Linked DNA regions of Homo sapiens: region 2 is linked to region 1. The links are contacts of gene promoters, found by promoter capture Hi-C in blood cells and fetal thymus (Javierre and others, 2016). All regions are on one chromosome and are shown on one strand. Each heading gives the region's core, a stretch centred on a gene start or on the middle of the fragment in contact. The rest is flanking DNA. Distances are from core to core; before and after follow the strand shown.

Region 1 (3,538 bases), core at 586-3,085:
AGTTCTTAACTTCTGGCTGGTGGTACTGGTCTGAAGATTTTCAAATTTTTTTTCCAAGTAAGTGAATATTGTGCTTTCTTCAAATGAAAACATAATGAAAGGCCGGGCGCGGTGGCTCACGCCTGTAATCCCAGCACTTTGGGAGGCTGAGGCGGGTGGATCACGAGGTCAAGAGATCAAGACCATCCTGGCCAACGTAGTGAAACCCTGTCTCTACTAAAAATACAAAAAATTAGCCAGGCGTGGTAGCGGGCGCCTGTAGTCCCAGCTACTCGGGAGGCTGAGGCAGGAGAATGGCGTGAACCCTGGAGGCGGAGCTTGCAGTGAACCGAGATTGCGCCACTGCACTCCATCCAGCCTGGGCAATAGAGCAAGACTCCGTCTCAAAAATATATGTGTATATATATAACTGTTTTAGACTTATTCTAGTTGGTGATAGCCAAGGGGAAAAGATATGCTAAACTCTAGCACTAAAGTACCCTGGAATCTAGCACGTGACAAGCTTCTTGAGCCTTCTCTGTCAAACTCTGTCTTGCATTTAAAAACCATTTATATCTCTATTTTTATTTTGTGTTTGTTTGAGACAGGATCTCACTTTTTCTCCCAGGCCGGAGTGCAGTGGCGCAATCTCAGCTCAATGCAGCTTTGACCCCCCCAGGCTCATGCAGTCCTCCCGCCTCAGCCCTCCAAGTAGCTGGAACTACAGACTTGTGCCACCATACCCGGCTAATTTTTGTATTTTTAGTAGAGACAGTATTTCACTATGTTGGACAGGCTGGTCTCGAACTCCTCAGCTCAAGCGACCCGCTTGCCTTGGCCTCCCAAAGTGCTGGGATTACAGGCCTGTGCCACCACGCCCAGTGTGAGACACAGTGCCTGGCCATTAGAACATGATACATGCTTTAGAACATTATTTTAAGACATACATGGCCGCGTGTGGTGGCTCATGCCTGTAATCCCAGCACTTTGGGAGGCCAAGGTGGGTGGGTCACCTGAGGTCAGGAGTTCAAGACCAGCCTGGCCAACATGGCGAAACCCCACCTCTACTAAAAATACAAAAATTAGCCGTGTATGGTGGCAGGCACCTGTAATCCCAGCTACTCAGGAGGCTGAGGTAGGAGAATCCCTTGAACTCAGGAGGCAGAGGATGCAGTGAGCCGAGATCGCGCCATTGCACTCCAGCCTGGGCTACAAAGGGAGACTCCATCTCAAAAAAAAAAAAAAGAAAAAGAAAAGAAATACATGACCCATGTTTAGTGCCCTCCCTGGCAGGCCGCATGTGTTGGCCAGGCTGGCCCAGCCTGCGGGGGCCTGTTCTTCTCACTCCCAGGAGAGGAGTGGCAGGGTTCTGAAGGGATCGAAAAAGGGGCCTGAACTCAGGGGTGGGGGCAGCAACTCTCAGTGAGGACCTGAGAGTCAGGGGAGAAGCTGGACAAGGGAGAGGTCTAGGGTCTGAGAGGGGTCCTCCCACAGCTTCAGAGTTGGCCATAGAAATAGCCTCCCAAGCACCCAAGGACACCTGGTGGCAGGGGCCAAGCTCTTTTTGGGGCTCCTCAGACTTCCCAAGGCCATTTCAGCCCCCCAGGTTTTAAAGAAAAGGCTGTTCACAGCTTCAGAAAAGAAAACGAATGGCTGTAGGATTTGTGCCCCAAGGTCCAAATGCAGATGGAGAAGTAAGAAGAAGGAGCCGTATTGCACAATGAACTACCAATCATCAATCCAGGCTCTCCTGTCGCTTCCCTACATCCTCTACCCTCTCCAAACTTCTCCCCTCTCTTGACTTAGCACCTCCGAAAAGGTAAGTCGATTCCCAGTACTCACCCTGATCCATCTCCCTCCTTCTCCTGTCGGTCAAGGCCCTTCAACTAGTCACCAGTACGATTCGAGACCTAATTGCCTCTTGAGCATTTACAGTCACCCTACTAGAACCTTCCCTTCCATCCCTGAGTCGGGCGGGGCTGCCACTTCCTCCTCCTCCCACTCCTCCTCTTAAATTTCCCGTTGTTCCAGGTACATCTTGGCTTAAGGAAGGGAGCTTCTGACTTAAGCCTTGTAAAAATGTGCTGAGGGATTTGTTTCTGTGGCCTCCTTTTTGAGCTGAGAAGACTCACAAGTGATGTGAATGGCAAAGCTTGGCTTGAAGCTGTTCCCTTGTGCCTCTGTCACTTCAAGGCCTGGGACCCGATTCGATCTAAGCCAGTTCGGTCTGGCTTCCCCTGACCATATGGGTGTTGGGTAAGAAAGAGCTATGAGGAAGGTCATAGAAAGAGTCATGAAGAAAGATTTGCACAGCCCATCAGGACCCAGGGAGCTTTGCATCTTGAAGAAAAATAAAGCACACTGAAATACTGAATTATTAATGCTGCTGATTAAAAATGAAGTTGACAAAGTTTCCAGTGACAAGGAAAAATGCCCATAATGTGATATTAACTGGAAGGAAAAAGTAGAATAGGAAAACAGTGCAGTTGTTCTCACTCATATGTGGGACCTGAAGAAGTTGAGATCAGAGAAGCAGAGAGCAGAGTCGTGGTGCTTAGAGGCTGGGAAGGGTGGGTGGGAGCAGGGATAGAGGTTGGTTAAGGGATACAAAATTACAGCTAGATAGGAAAACTAGGTTCTAGTGTTCTATAACACTGCAGCGTGACTATATTTAATACGAATTTATTGCATATTTTCGAATAACTGGAAGAGAGGTTTTTGAGTGTTCCCAACACAAAGAAATGATCAATGTTTGAGATGATGGATATTCTGATTACCCTGATTTGATCATTATACATTGTATACATGTATCAAAATACATCAGAATGTCACTCTGTACCTCATAAATATGTACACTATTACATGTTAATTAAAAATAAAATAATTTTTTAAAAAACAGTGTAGTTTAACAGTGTAAAAAATATTATTTATGCAGATAGACCCATTTTTAAAAGATAGAAGAAAATATAACAAACTGTGGCTAAGAGCAGTGAGATTGTGAATGTGCTTTCTTTTTTATATTTTACTGAATTTTTTAAAAATTCCACAGTGGGAGTGTAAGATGTTTTTAATTAGGGAGAAAAAAACACTTTTTTTTAAAGAGAAAGAAAGAAAAAGAATAGGAAGATCATGGCAGGAGATCCAGACATGTGTGTATGTGTTTCCCAGATTCAAAGTTTAAGGAGAGAAGTGTCCATTCAGCACTCCTGGAGGAGGAACTTAGTTTGGTCAAAGAATAAGTGCTGCAGACAGAAAAACTTTAAAGCTATTTACATGTTTACTAATTATTGTCAAACATATAGAAGACCTTCGTAATTCCCTGAGTTAATCTGTGTGATTCATTCGTCACAAATTCCTGCACCTATTGTAACCAAAGCTTTCAGTCACATCCTCTGCCTCTTTTAATACGTTGAGTGTATTCACAAAATGATGGTCAGGCGAACACATTGAACTCACTCATTACCCGGTGTTCAGTGGGCACCCTATGGGCTTTATTTTGTTAAAATTGCTGTACCTTGGCTCAGAAAAATACCTGATTACTGGTGCCAAGAATCTTTTG
Region 2 (3,538 bases), core at 774-3,273, 620 kb before region 1:
TCCACACTCACTCTCCCTCATTCCCTCTCACTGGATCTAGACAAATTCTTGACATATTTCACCAGTAAATGCTTCAGTATATATCTTTGAAAGGTGTGGTAGAGTCTAAAACTCTTGAATCCTATTCCAGGGCTCATTCACTGAAAACAGCTCTGGAGTGGAGACCAGCTCTCCTTTGGGTCACACACACACAGGCGTGGTGTGTGTATAAATTATCAGCTGCCTTTTGCTACCAGATCACAGAGGATTTCTGTTTCAGGGAATGGAGGTGCAGTAACAATCTCTGAATATGTAGGAGAGAGTTTTATGCCCACAGTGTTTCTGGAGCTTCTGCTTTACTGAGTATTTCCAACATATTTTTAGCAGACACCTTTTTGTTCTTTTTAAAGGACCAAACTTCTGAATTTAGCTAAAATGTTTTTGTGTCTTTTTAAAAAGAACAACTTTCCTGGTGATTTTCCTTAACTAAAATGGATTTGTGTTTCTGCTAACCCCACAACTCTAAGACTATGCCAGTTTAATGACCATTCTCCCCTCCTGCACTGTGACATCGTAAGCTGCCTGTGACACCAGGCCTGTTTGTCCAAGGTTGCCAGAAGTCCAAAGCACTCTCTACCCTGTTGATTGCAGGGGCTCTCTTGGAAGGCCTTACACTGCTATCAGTTTGTCCTGAGCTTGGTTTGCATTTCCCCTTGGGTAACCTCAGCCGCTTCTGTGACAGGAGAGCGCTTGAAGAGCAATGTGACGAGGACCATCAGACACCGAGGGATGGAGAGACATCCCACAGGGCCCAGATTCAGCAGCAGCAGAGCTACGTAGAGGATTTGAGGCATCAAATCCTAGCAGAAGAGATTCGAGCTGCGAAGGAACTGGAATTTGACCAAGCTTGGATTAGCCAGCAGATTAAAGAAAGTAGGTGTCCACCACTTAATGTGTCTGCCTCACCTCCTTATTCTTTCATTTTCATGCTTCCTCAGCCTTCTGTATTCTCTCTTTTGTTTTCTTTGTGATATGATGGAATCTTTGGTATTAGGTGTTCTCTTTTCTTTTAGACACCAGAGATTCTTATAAGAAGAGGGCTGGAAGCAAGAATAAGGACGCTAATTTCCTTATTGTCCTCAGAATTACGGACCTCCTACTTACTGCTCCTCATTTGGTCATGTATCCATACCCTACCGCCTGCCCTAGCACGTGCCCACTGCTGTGCTGAGTCCTGAGGGTCTTCATTCCCTTACCTTGTGGTAAGGGAGCCCTGTAGCCCTGCAGCCCTCACCCTGCCACATCACCTTGGCCAGCTCTTTCACTCCACACAGGTCCAGCCATGGCTGGAGGTATCTGAGTCCAGGCAGCCACAAGCAGGGAAGGAGATGCTGAAATTCTCTCTGGGTGTTTTTGGTTCCCAGACCAGCAGTGTCTGCTCAGAGAAGAGACCTGGCTGGCCAGCTTGCAACAGCAGCAGCAAGAAGACCAGGTAGCAGAGAAAGAACTTGAGGCATCTGTGGCACTTGATGCTTGGCTTCAGACAGATCCTGAGATTCAGCCATCCCCATTTGTCCAAAGTCAGAAAAGGGTGGTGCACCTGCAGCTCCTGCGGAGACACACTCTTCGGGCAGCAGAGCGGAATGTCCGGCGGAAAAAGGTCTCATTCCAGCTAGAGAGAATCATCAAAAAGCAGAGGCTGCTGGAGGCCCAGAAGAGACTGGAGAAGCTCACGACATTGTGCTGGCTCCAGGATGACAGCACCCAGGAGCCCCCATACCAGGTCCTCAGCCCTGATGCCACAGTCCCACGGCCTCCATGTAGAAGCAAATTGACGAGTTGCAGTTCTTTGAGCCCCCAAAGACTCTGCAGCAAGCACATGCCCCAGCTACACAGGTACAGCCAGTAGTTGTCACTGGGAAGCACTCGGTTAAAGTTTACAACCTTCTTGCCCAGGTAGTTTTCTGTTTTTCCCCATGCCTCATTTCCTCAGTCTGTGAAATGGAAGAATGTGTATATTTCTCTCTTCCTCATGACTTTTTCCATCTTCTGGTTACTCTTCTTTCTGTGTATATCGTTTTAGATTCAGGCCTTTCCCATCTTCCTTACCCCCTGAGTAGCAATTCTTGCTTCTTTGGTAACATCTTAGGAGTAAGGATCTCGGCCTCACTTTTCGTCTGTTCCTTAGACCTGGGCTATCCATATACGTTTCCTTGTATGTCACACCTCAATCTTGTCATGCCTGTAACCAGACTTCTTGACTCCTACACCACCTCCCTCCCTCTCCCTCCTCGACCTGCCACATCAAGTGAGCTTTCTCACCCCACCTCCCACCTGGTGACTGAGCTATCTTTTTGACTCCCAGGTTCAAGTTGGGACCTTCCTTGTTTCTTTTCTCCATTACTTCTTACATGCCATCAAGGCAGGGCTGTATTATCTCCCAGACTCCTTGGAGCAAGGGTTTGTGTCTTATACCTCTTTGTATCCTCAGGACCTAGCACAGGTTCTTGTCCATAGGACGTTCACAATTAACGTCTGTTAGTGTTGTGTTTGCTCACCTCTCTGGTCTTCAAAGTACCAGGTGGGCTTTTTAAAAAAACTTTATTATGAAAAAATTTTAAACATATGCCAAGTTGGAAGAATAGTACATGTATCACTGATATTATTCAGCAATTATTAGGTTTTACACACTTGCCTACCTTCCCATTTTCTGAAGTTTTTTAAAGCAATTTCTAGACACCATGTCACTTTAGTTCTACATTTCTAAGTATATACTTCTAAAAAAAAATGGACTTTTCTTGTAACCACAATGTTATTGTGACAGCTACCAAAATTAAGATTATTTGATGTATTCTAAAACCTAGGCCATATTCAAATTTCTCTGCTGCCCAAAACTATTTACAGTTTTCTTTTTTCTCTCTCTTTTTTCTCTAACATGGTTCAGCATTGAAACCGTTGGTTTTTCAAATCAAGATCCAAGTAGGATTTACACACTGCATTTGTTTGTTGTTTCTCAGGTTTCTTTTAATCATTCTTCTTGTTTTATTTGTAATCATTATTTTTATTTCTTTTTATTGATAATTATAGTTCTGTAGAATATGTATCACTCTATAGATTTATCTTTTGGTTCCTCATAATACCATTTAAATTGTTCCTCTATTCCTCATATTGCCTATTAATAGGAAGCTTTCCCTACAAGTGTGATTAGCTTCAGTTCAGTTTTTTAACAAGATGAAGAAATTGAGGAACAGAGTGGGCCTGGAGCCTCTTGGAGAACTAGGACTAGAGTCCACAATTTCCTTTTATACCTGGAGAGCTTTTCTCTGGGTCTGAAGTCTATAGGAGACAGTGACACTGGCCTTGTTTTTAACCTCCTTCTGTCCACAGGAAGTAGTACCTCTCACATCTTCTGAGATAGCTTTCCTTGTCTTCACAGCATTTTCCTAAGTTGGGATCCCTCTACCACATTGCCACCTAGGCCTGACCCTACACACCAAACATCAGAGAAAACATCATCAGAAGAGCATTTGCCACAGGCTGCTTCCTACCCTGCAAGGAC

Evidence for each region. Contacts are between HindIII fragments. The CHiCAGO score rates a contact against its expected background, and 5 or more counts as called.
Region 2: a fragment that was not itself captured here is called in contact with the fragment with the promoter of TGM7 in region 1 in 1 of 17 cell types (erythroblasts); the score reaches 6.1 in erythroblasts.

Annotation. Positions count from the first base shown.
Region 1 is chr15:43,300,420-43,303,957 of GRCh38, forward strand. It overlaps TGM7 (transglutaminase 7), which reads right to left and starts at 1,836. Exons shown (of 13, transcript NM_052955.3): 1 at 1,822-1,836. The coding sequence starts at 1,831. The HindIII fragment of the contact is 1,629 bases long and covers 501-2,129 here.
Region 2 is chr15:42,680,701-42,684,238 of GRCh38, forward strand. STARD9 (StAR related lipid transfer domain containing 9) reads left to right here. Exons shown (of 33, transcript NM_020759.3): 21 at 722-912; 22 at 1,404-1,875; 23 at 3,416-3,538. Among named protein-coding and RNA genes, the nearest start is that of CDAN1, 55 kb to the right of the region's middle. The HindIII fragment of the contact is 2,280 bases long and covers 884-3,163 here.